Linked DNA regions of Homo sapiens: region 2 is linked to region 1. Evidence: promoter capture Hi-C in human tissues and cell types (Jung and others, 2019). All regions are on one chromosome and are shown on one strand. The core of a region is centred on a gene start or on the middle of the fragment in contact, and the rest is flanking DNA. Distances in the headings are between cores, read along the strand shown.

Region 1 (5,610 bases), core at 1,910-4,409:
CACCAATCAGCGCTCTGTGTCTAGCTAAAGGTTTGTAAACGCACCAATCAGCACTCTGTAAAAATGCACCAATCAGCGCTCTGTGTCTCCCTAAAGGTTAGTAAACGCACCAATCAGCGCTCTGTGTCTAGCTAATTGGCTGGGGACTTGGAAAACTTTTCTGTCTAGCTAAAGGATTGTAAATGCACCAATCAGCACTCTGTGTCTAGCTATAGGTTTGTAAACTCACCAATCAGCACTCTGTAAAAATGGACCAATCAGTGCTCTGTAAAATGGACCAATCAGTGCTCTGTAAAATGGACCAATCAGTGCTCTGTATAATGGACCAATCAGCAGGATGTGGGCAGGGCCAAATAGAATAAAAGCTGGCCACCCAAGCCAGCAGCGGCAACCCGCGGGTCCTCTTCCATGCTGTAGAAGCTTTATTCTTTTGCTCTTCGCAATAAATCTTGCTGCTGCTCACTCTTTGGGTCCACACTACCTTTATGAGCTATAACACTCACCACAAAGGTCTGCAGCTTCACTCCTGAAGCCAGCGAGACCACAAACCCACTGGGAGGAACAAACAACATTGGACACGCCACCTTTACGAGCTGTAACACTCATTGCAAAGGTCTGCAGCTTCACTCCTGAGGTCAGCGAGACCACGAACCCACCAGGAGGAATGAACAACTCTGGATGTGCCACCTTTAAGAGCTGTAACACTCACTGCGAAGGTCTGCAGCTTCACTCCTGAAGTCAGCAAGACCACGAACCCACCAGAAGGAAAAAACTCCAGACACATCTGAACATCTGAAGGAACAAACTCCGGACACACCATCTTTAAGAACTGTAACAGGGCCGGGCGCGGTGGCTCACGCCTGTAATCCCAGCACTTTGGGAGGCCGAGGCGGGTGGATCATGAGGTCAGGAGATCGAGACCATCCTGGCTAACAAGGTGAAACCCCGTCTCTACTAAAAATACAAAAAAAAAAAATTAGCCGGGTGCGGTGGCGGGCGCCTGTAGTCCCAGCTGCTCGGGAGGCTGAGGCAGGAGAATGGCGTGAACCCGGGAAGCGGAGCTTGCAGTGAGCCGAGATTGCGCCACTGCAGTCCGCAGTCCGGCCTGGGCGACAGAGCGAGACTCCGTCTCAAAAAAAAAAAAAAAAAAGAACTGTAACACTCAACACGAGGGTCCGCGGCTTTATTCTTGAAGTCAGCGAGACCAAGAACCCAGAGGAAGGAAACAATTCCGGACACAGCAGGACACTGGCCAGTGCCAGGGCCAGCAGCACCTCCCAGAGGGAACAATGGAAAGGCGGAGGAAAACCTAGATTTCATGTGTAGGGGAAAGAGGAGACACAGTAGCCTTACCTAGTGGGCACTGGAGTACAAAGCTCTGTAGTATCATGTCACTGTAGAAGCCCCCTTGGACCTCACTAAGGAGCCCCACATTCTTGGAAGATGTACTGACCCTGTCCTCAAAGGTCATTAAGCCCTGCAACACCAAGCCAATGGGCAGACAGATGTGATCTAAGCACTGAGCGTGAGCCCTAGCCACTGGTCCTCCAACCTAAAACCCTCCTTCCCAAATCCTATCCTCAGGCCGTTCACTGGGCCAGGCCACCAACATAATGCAGTCTGGACGTCCTGAAGCCACACCAGAATTCTATATATCCAGAGGCCCATTTGACACCTCCACTCACAGGTCTCCAGACAATTCAGACTCTATACCTACAAAATCCATCGCTAATCTTCCATGAAACATCCTCCTCCTGCCAACTGCCAACCTCTATTCTCCACAGGAGGCATCCTAATTCTTCCTAACTACTTGGGATGGTCCTTCACCCCTACTCATGCTTATTCCACTTATCTAAGGTAGCAAAAAATTCCATTAGCTCTATCTTGAAGATCCACTGGGAATCTGATCACTTCTCCCATCCTTCTTGCTTCCGTTCTGGACAGGCCACTATCATAACTGTCTGGAACAATACTGCAATAACCTCCCCCACAGTCTCCCTGCTTCCAGCCCCACTACAACCACCTTCTCCAGTAGTGTGTTCATTCAGCAACCACTGAAATACTTTCCAAATTCTAACTCAGGTCATGTCCATCCCTTTTCTGTTCAACACCTTTCATGGCTCCCAGGCGCCCTCGGTGTGCCAGGAGAGGCAGGACTCCTCTTACGCTCTCCACTCGCTGCCAAGGGGGCATGAGAGCCTGCCTGAACGCTCAGGTCAGGGTCAAGTCCAAGTCTTCGCATATGCAGATCCCTCCTCCTGTACCCTCCACGTCTCAACAAACTGGATTCTGAAATGGTGACCCCCAACCTGTGAACGCTCCACACTGTTCAGTGGGGCCCGCAGAGGACCTGGGGCAGATACTTCTCAATCGGAGACTTAGGACAATGGTGCTGAGTCCAGCGGAGTGGGTGCCAGGAGACCTTTGGCGCACGTTCCATGCCTACAGCCGGGCGCACACTGGGTCAAGACCTCCCAATGCGTAGCTTTTCTTGGCCTCGGCCTCGCGCTCCCTAAAGCCAACATAACGCCAAGGGCGACGACTCCCGAGAGCCGCGGACACCTCCGCGCGGTGCAACCTGAGGGTCCCACTGGGCCGGCTTTATCTAAGGCACAGGGTGGGGAAGGGGGGTGCGGTGTTGTGGGGGGCGAACACTGGGCTCAGGGGCGATATTCGCCGCGGTGGGGGCGCTTGTATGTCAAGAAGGCGGAACTTCCCCGACTCTCGTGCCTTCCTCGCTCCTGTTTCCATGGGCCCAGGGAGCCTCCAAGATTCCGTCCCTCGCCTGACAACGCGGTCCCTTCAGAAGCAGACAAAATCGAGAAATGCCAAAGTGATGGTCCGAGGACGACGACGGAAGTCCCGCTGCCAGGCTGTGATTGGCCAGCGTCTTACACTCCGCCCGGAAGTGCCTGTCTCCTCGGCTGCCAATGGCCAGCCCTGAGGCACCGCGAGGGTCCTTCTGGATAATGTAGTTTGCGTTGCCTGAGCAGCGACGCAATAAACGCCATTCCTCAATCACCTTGGCAACGACCTAGCAGTAGCGTGACGGGCATAGGGAAATAGCGTCATAGACGGCGGGGATCCTTGAGCCAATGAAAGCTCGGACCAGTGGCAAGTCCGAGCTGTCATTGAGAGGCGGGACTTCCGGCGCCGCCATTGCGGTCCTCATTTTGCTGCTGGTGGGTTGGGCTACAGCAGGCCTCTGGAGCCACACCAGGGCACGGGAGTGGGTGCAGGGACCGTCACCGCGCCTTCACACGCACCATAGTGCCCGGCTAATTACTCTGCTTTTATGAGCCAAGGTGTTCCCGAAAGTGGAGCCAGCGCCACGCGTCTCCAGGGTCTCCATACCCAGCCTTCGTCCCTGCGGTGCCCAGAGGCCTTGCGCGCATTTTGCATTTGGGAAGACAGGTCCTGAGTGCGACCGTCACCCAGCGGAAGTGTGAGGGTTCGGCCCAGCGGCAGGGCTAGCCCTGGGCCTCCTGTTATGGCCCTGCCCAGCCCACAGGTTCTAATGGGGTTGCCAGCGTTGCTGATGGGCCCGGCGCAGGTAAGTGGAGTGTGCCCCAGGCCCTCACCCGCTGGGATTCCGGCCCTCAGGATCCTGAAGCCCAGATAGAGGGGATGTTGGTGTCCTGGGACTCTTGATCGTGTCCTGTCCTCACACGTGGGTCCTGGGCCCTGCCCTGGGAGTCACTTACCCTTACCATCCTGAATCCAGGCAAGGGGTTATATCGAGGGATTCCCATTTCTGGAATCCTGTGGAATGAGATCTGGAAGGCTGTCCCAGGGACAGTGACCAGCATGTGTACCTTGTTTAGTGGTGATGAAATGGAAGCATTCTGGGGACTGCCGGTCTCCATTTAGTCTGGTGGAAACAGGGAAGGGAAACCAATAGTTAGGCCTGGAATGGCAGCCTGAGGAGCTGGACCTCTATTCTGATGGTGGTGGGAGCCATGGAAGGTTTGGAGTAGAGGAAGTAGGTGCTCTGACTCCAGTCTTAACAGACGCCCTATGGATGCCTAGTGGGCAGCAGACTGGAGGGATGGTGATGGTGGAGCAGGAAGGCCAGTGAGGAGCTGACAGATGTGGTCCAGATGTGTGCTTTGGGTAGCTGGACAGAGGGGTGCCCGTGGAGGTAGGACAGATGGTTGGCTTCTGAATCTGCCCAAACTGGGCCATGGATTACCTGATGTGGGACAGTGAAAGAAAGTGAAATGTTAAGATTGACCTAAGGCTGAGTGCAGTGGCTCACACTTGTAATCCCAGCACTTTGGGAGGCCAAGGCGGCCAGATCACTTGAGGTCAGGAGTTCAAGACCAGCCTGGCCAACGTGGCGAAACCCCACCTCTACTAAAAATACAGAAAAATTAGCCAGGACATGGTAGTGTGCACCTGTAATCCCAGCAACTTGGGAAACTGAGGCAGAAGAACTGTTTGAATCTGGGAGATGGAGGTTGCATTGAGCTGAGATCGTGCCACTGCGCTCCAGCCTGAGTGACAGAGCGAGACTCTGTCTTAAAAAAAAAAAAAAATTGCCGGGCGTGGTGGCTCACGCCTGTAATCCCAGCACTTTGGGAGGCCGAGGCAGGTGGATCACTAGGTCAGGAGATTGAGACCATCCTGGCTAACACGGTGAAACCCCATCTCTACTAAAAATACAAAAAATTAGTCAGGCGTGGTGGTGGGTGCCTGTAGTCCCAGCTACTCGGGAGGCTGAGGCAGGAGAATGGCTTGAACCCGGGAGGCGGAGCTTGCAGTGAGCCAAGATCGCGCCACTGCACTCCAACCTGGGTGACAGAGCGAGACTCTGTCTCAAAAAAAAAAAAAAAAAAATTGACCTTAGATCTTTCAGATGTGGAAGTTGGTGTGAGGAGTAGATTTCAGGGGGAAGATAAAGAGTTGGATTTTGGCCATGTTGTATTTGAGATGTCCCAGACACTACCAAATTGAGGTGCCAAGTAGACCACTAAACATGTGATTATGAAATTATGTCGGGTTTAGGCTGGAAACATCCAAGGGATGGATGCTTGTGTGTGGACACTGCATGCAGTTGTGGGTTGGGTTCAAGATAGTGGCTGAGCCTCCTGAGCAGAGAGTAGGTCTAGGACAACAGTGAAGCATAGCGGCAAAAGTAGGATGAGAGTTGGGCTTTGGTTTAGGTTGATTTGCTTCTCTACAGCTCACTACATTGTTGCGGCCATCCTTCTTGTGGTCAGGGCATGTTATCTCTTCTTAAATAGGGTCCTGGGGTTTTTGTCAGGCTGGTGGAGTGGCAAGATCAGAAAGGGTCAGCCTAAGCTGAGTCCCCAAGCCAAGGTGGGGGCCAGTGGATCTTGGATTTGAGTGTTAGGAAGAGCAAGGACAGCTATGACTGGGGAGGAGACAACACATACAAAGGCAAAGATATCAGAGGGAAGAGATATTTGAGATCTGCTTATGGTTCTGGGCAGCTGATGGTTGAAGGAACAGGGCTGGCAGGGGAGGCATTGACTTGAGGGGCTATGACTGCCTCTTGCAGTGGGGTTTTTGGAGCTCTGTAGCTGGCTTGGACCAGGAATGGATCCCGGTTGCATCTGTCAGGTATGCCATGTGCATGGTGAGATG
Region 2 (5,572 bases), core at 1,314-3,813, 1.0 Mb after region 1:
CTAGAGACAGAAACAAAACCATGGCTTCAGGCTAAAAGCCTAAAACAAAACAGAGCAACAAAAAAATAGGGTGAGTAAGACAAGCTCGATAGAGCTTTGCTGTTTTTGACCTGTTGACAAAGGAAAAAAAGTATATTGCCTGCATTCCTAAGGACTTTCTCCAGGATGAACTTACTCTTGCTCAGTGAAGTTAGGCTGAATACTTTCTAACATTTGCTGCACTCATAATATTCTGCTGGTTGTATAGTAATAACATACAAAGGTGTTTTTCTGATGTCAGGACATGTCACAATGATAATCATAAAATGTAGACCACTTTGCTACTTACAGCTTGAAACCTAAGGACATAGGCAGGGCTGCAAGAGTTATGAGGGAACCCAAGATAACAGCAAGCTGGAGCTTAGGGGGCAGCTTGTGTGTGCCATGTAAATTGGGGTTAGCTAGGTTTTCAGGGACCCCTGTGCATTGACCAATGGAATAATTTTACAAGCTCCTGGGCACAGAAGCTGTCCCTAGATATCTGATTCCTGATCCTGGGGTGATTGGGTCTTACATATTGTGGCCCAGAGTTTGAGAGCCTGATAAGGAAAATGGTTGGGAGTGTGGACTTAATCTGCTGCTCCAAAATTGTAACTGACAAGCCTCTACCAAGGGCCTTAATGCTAGGCAAAAACATTATTCTTTTGATGTTAAAAAAAAAAAACTGGATATCCACACGCAAAAGAATTAAGTTGCTAAAATGAACTCAAATGCATCAAAGACTTATAAAACAGATATATTAGACTCCATTTAAATTCAAAATTCCTGTGTAAAAAAGGACATAATGGACAGAGTGAAAAGGAAAAAGACTCAATGGGAGAAAGTATTTGAAAACCACATATCTGAGAAGGAATATCTAGAATATGAGGGGTCTTCAAAAGTTTCATGAAAAATGAGAAAAAAATGTATATTATGAAAAAATTGGCCAGGGGTGGTGGCTTAAGCCTGTAATCACAGCACTTTGTGAGGCCCAGGCAGGTGGATCACCTGAGGTCAGGAGTTCGAGAGCAGCCTGGCCAACAGAGTGAAAACCCATCTCTACTAAAAATACAAAAATTAGCTGGGCGTGATTGTGGGCACCTGTAATCCCAGCTACTCAAGAGGCTGAGGCAGGAGAATTGCTTGAACCCAGGAGGCGGAGGTTGCAATGAGCCGAGATCATGCCACTGCACTCCAACCTAGCGTTAGTGAGACTCTGTCAAAAAAAAAAAAAAAAATTATGTATGGATTTCAATTTTTTACACCAAAGTGAATTTGTAATAACTTGTTCTAACAAGTATGAACAGGATCTAGTTTGAGGCACTAAGAACGGCATCAGTTTGAAAACACCTTCTATCAGAGGAATGTGAATTCAGCTAAGGTTGAAGAAAGAACAAATATCAAATATATAGTAAAGCTTGGCTCTAAAAATGGTAAAACCGGCCGGGTGCGGTGGCTCGCGCCTGTAATCCCAGCACTTTGGGAGGCCGAGTTTGGGCGGATCACAAGGTCAGGAGTTCAAGACCATTCTGACCAATATGGTGAAACCCCATCACTACTAAAAATACAAAAATTAGCCGGGCGTGGTGGCGCATGCCTGTAATCCCAGCTACACAGGAGGCTGAAGCAGAAGAATCGCTTGAACCCAGGAAACGGAGGTTGCAGTGAGCTGAGATCGCGCCACTGCACTCCAGCCCAGACGACAGAGTGAGACTCCGTCTCAAAAAAAAGAAAAAGAAAAGTTTATGGGCACAATGACCCAGAGAAATCAGAGTTTACAAACTGATAACCTGTTTTCTTTTTTTTTAGACGGAGTCTCACTCTGTCGCCCATGCTGGAGTGCAGTGGCACGATCTCCACTCACTGCAACCTCCGCCTCCCGGGTTCACGCCATTCTCCTGCCTCAGCCTCCGGAGTAGCTGGGAGTACAGGCGCCCGCCACCACGCCCGGCTAATTTTTTGTATTTTTAGTAGAGACGGGGTTTCACTGTGTTAGCCAGGATAGTCTCGATCTCCTGACCTCATGATCCACCAGCCTCGGCCTCCCAAAGTGCTGGGATTACAGGCGTGAGCCACCGCGCCCGGCCTGATAACGTTTTAAGAAGAGATGAGATGATGTTGACCACGCAGCCCACAATGGCAAACCATTAATAACAATTTGCGAGGAAGAAATTCATCTTGCTCATGACCTTATTGAAGAAGACTGATGATTAACAGCAGAAACAGTAACTGACACCACAGACATCTGAATTGGTTCAGCTTACACAATTCTGACTGAAAAATTAAAGTTGTGCGAACTTTCCACTCAATGGGTGCCAAAGCCACTGAATCCAGATCAGCTGCAGACAAGAGCAGAACCTTCAATGTAAATGTTAAACAAGTAGGATCAAGATGCTGAAGCATTTCTTTGAAGAATTGTACAGATGAAACATGGCTTTATTATTAATTACTATTTGAGATGGAGTTTCACTCTTGTTGCCCAGGCTGGAGTGCAATGGTGTGATCTCGGCTCACTGCCACCTCCGCCTCCCGGGTTCAAGCGATTCTCCTGCCTCAGCCTCCTGAGTAGCTGGGATTACAGGCATGCACCACCTCGCCAGGCTAATTTTTGTATTTTTTAGTAGAGAGGGGGGTTTCTCCATGTTGGTCAGGCTGGTCTCAAACTCCTGAGCTCAGATGATCCGCCCAACTCGGCCTCCCAAATTGCTGGGATTACAGACGTGAGCCACGGCGCCCGCAATGAGAGTGTTTTGAGAAAGTTAGCTAAAGCTTTAGCAGAAAACCCATGGGAAAGCTTCACCAGGAGTCCTTCACTTCAATGCTCCTGCTCATTCCTCTCATCAAATAACTGCAACTTTACAAGAATTCTGATAACCCTAAGGCATCCACCTTACAGTCCGGATTTGGCTCCTTCTGACTTCTTGTTTCCTACTTTTAAAAAATCTTTAAAGGGCACCCATTTTTCTTTAGTTAATATTAAAAAAGATTGCATAGACAAGGTTAAATTCCCAGGAACCTCACTTCTTTAGGGATGGACTAAATGCCTGGTATCATCACTTATAAAATTGTCTTGAACTTGATGGAGCTTATGTTGAGAAATAAAACTTGTTTTCTTTTTGTATCCTTTACTTTCATGTTTCCACAAACTTTCTGAAGTCCCCACATATACTAAAAAACTCCTACATCTCAAAACCAAATAACCCTAAAGAAAAAAAAAAAACTCAACCCAGTAAAACTACTAAAAAAAAAAATTAATAATAAAGTTAAATTAAAAAATGATGCAGCTGCTATAGAAGAGTCCTCAAAAATTTTAAAACAGAATTAACATAGAATGGGAACATTGTGAGTCAGAAATTTAAAAAATTAAAAATATTTTTTAAATGAACATAGGGGGACAGGTGAGTGGATCATGAGGTCGAGATTGAGACCATCCTTGCCAACACGGTGAAACCCCGTCTCAACTAAACATACAAAAATTATCTGGGCATGGTGGTGCATGCCTGTAGTCCCAGCTACTTGGGAGGCTGAGGCAGGAGAACTGCTTGAACCCCGGAGGCAGAGGCTGCAGTGAGCTGAGATCAGGCCACTGTACTCCAGCCTGGCGACAGAGCGAGACTCCCGTCTCAAAAAACAAACAAACAAACAAACAAACAAAAAAAAAACATAGAAAGCACCAATTCTACTTCTGAGTAAATCCTCAAAAGGAATTTAAAGCACAGCCTCAAAGAAACATTTGTACATTCATGCTCATCTGCTATTAACAACAGCTGAGTGGAAACAACCCAAATGTCCACTAATGAAAGGAAAAGTGGCACATACATATATAATCATGCACCTCACTTTTCAGTCAACAATGGGCCACATTCATGACAGTGGTTCCATAAAATTACAATGAAGCTGAAAAATGCTTATTGCCTAATGACATGATAGCAGTAGTAAGGCAATATATTAATCACATATTCATGGTGATGCTGGTATAAACAAACCTACTGTGAGGCCAGTCATATAGAAGTATAACATATACAATAATGTACAGTAGATAAAACTTACGAGTTACTAGCTTATGTTCTTAGCATACTACACTTTTTATCATTAGGTGTTCTCCAACAGTAGAGTATATATGGAGTTGTGTGTATGTCTATAAATATACAGGTGTACATACACACAAACTGTAACACAGCCTCGGGCAGGTCCTTCAGGAGGTATTCCAGAAAAAGGCATTGTTATTTTAGATGACAGCTCCATGTGTGTTACTGTCCCAGAAGATCTTCTGGAACAGGTTGTGAAGGTGGAATAAAATGACATTATCCTGATCCTGTGCCGGCCTAGACAAATGTGTGTATCTTAGTTTTTAACAAAAAAAATTTAAGAAGTTAGGATATAAAAAATATTTTTGTACAGTTGTACAATGTTTTAAGCAAAACATTATTACAAAAGTCAAAAAGTTTTTAAAAATACAAGCTTATAAAGTAAAAAATGGTCAGCTAAGGTTAATATATTAAAGAAAAATTTCTATAAATTTAATTTTGTCCAGCCGGGCACGGTGGCTCATGCCTGTAATCCCAGCACTTTGGGAGGCCAAAGCGAGTGGCTCACTTGAGGTCGGGAGTTTGAGACCAGCCTGGCCAACATGGTAAGACCCCGTTCTCTACTAAAAATACAAAAATTAGCGGGGCATGGTGGTGCATGCCTGTAATCCCAGACACTTGGGAAGCTGAGGCAGAACTGCTTGAACCAGGAGGTGGAGGAGGTTGCAGGAAGCCAAGATTGCACCACTGCACTCTAGTCTGGGCAACAGAGCAAGATTCTGTCTCAAAAATAATAATAAAAATAAAAATGTATTGTCGTCTAAGTACACAATGTCTATAAAGTCTACAGCACAGTAACAACCTAGGCCTTCACATTCACTTACCACTCACTGACTCACCTAGAGCAACTTGCAGTACTGTAAGCTTCATTCATGGTAAGTTCTCTGTGAGTCTATCATTTTTTCTTTTATACTGTATTTTTACTGTACCTTTTCTGTTTAGATATACTTAAAAACAATTACTTACCATGTGTTCCAACAGCCTACAGTATTCAGTACAGTAATATGCTATACAAGTTTGTAGCAAGGTGCTATAGGATATACCATACAGCCTAGGCATTCACGCAACCCCCCCACCACCAAAAAAAGAAAGAAAATCACCTAATAACACTTTTCTCAGGACACTTCCCCACTGTTAAGCAACACATGACTAACAGAATTTTATTCAGCCTTTAAAAAGGATGGAAATTCTAATGGATTAGAACATGAAACCTTAAAAATATAACGTTAAGCAAAATAAGCCACAAAATAAACCACAAGAAGACCAAAACTTAAGTTTTCTTATATGAGGTACCCGGACTAGTAAAATTCATACAGAGCGGTGCTTGTCAAGAGGCTGGATGGAGTGAGGAATAAGGTTTTAAAAGGTATAGACTTAGTTTCATAAGTTGAAAAGACTTCTAGATATTCATTGCACAATGTGAATGACTTAACAGTACTGAACTATACACTTTAACATGGTTAAGA

The links. Contacts are between HindIII fragments. The study calls those that stand out against the background at their distance.
Region 2: a fragment that was not itself captured here is called in contact with the fragment with the promoter of ZNF132 in region 1 in 1 of the 25 tissues and cell types used here (lymphoblastoid cells).

What each region holds. Positions count from the first base shown.
Region 1 is chr19:58,437,702-58,443,311 of GRCh38, reverse strand. It overlaps ZNF132 (zinc finger protein 132), which reads left to right and starts at 3,159. Exons shown (of 3, transcript NM_003433.4): 1 at 3,159-3,553. The coding sequence starts at 3,491. It overlaps ZNF132-DT (ZNF132 divergent transcript), which reads right to left and starts at 2,864. Exons shown (of 1, transcript NR_186311.1): 1 at 1-2,864. It also overlaps a transcript of ZNF324B not described here. RefSeq lists enhancers at 1,962-2,471, 2,621-2,750, 2,983-3,493. The HindIII fragment of the contact is 13,144 bases long and covers 1-5,610 here.
Region 2 is chr19:57,421,603-57,427,174 of GRCh38, reverse strand. ZNF17 (zinc finger protein 17) reads right to left here. Exons shown (of 4, transcript NM_001330617.2): 4 at 5,241-5,572. Among named protein-coding and RNA genes, the nearest start is that of ZNF749, 11 kb to the left of the region's middle. The HindIII fragment of the contact is 4,324 bases long and covers 402-4,725 here.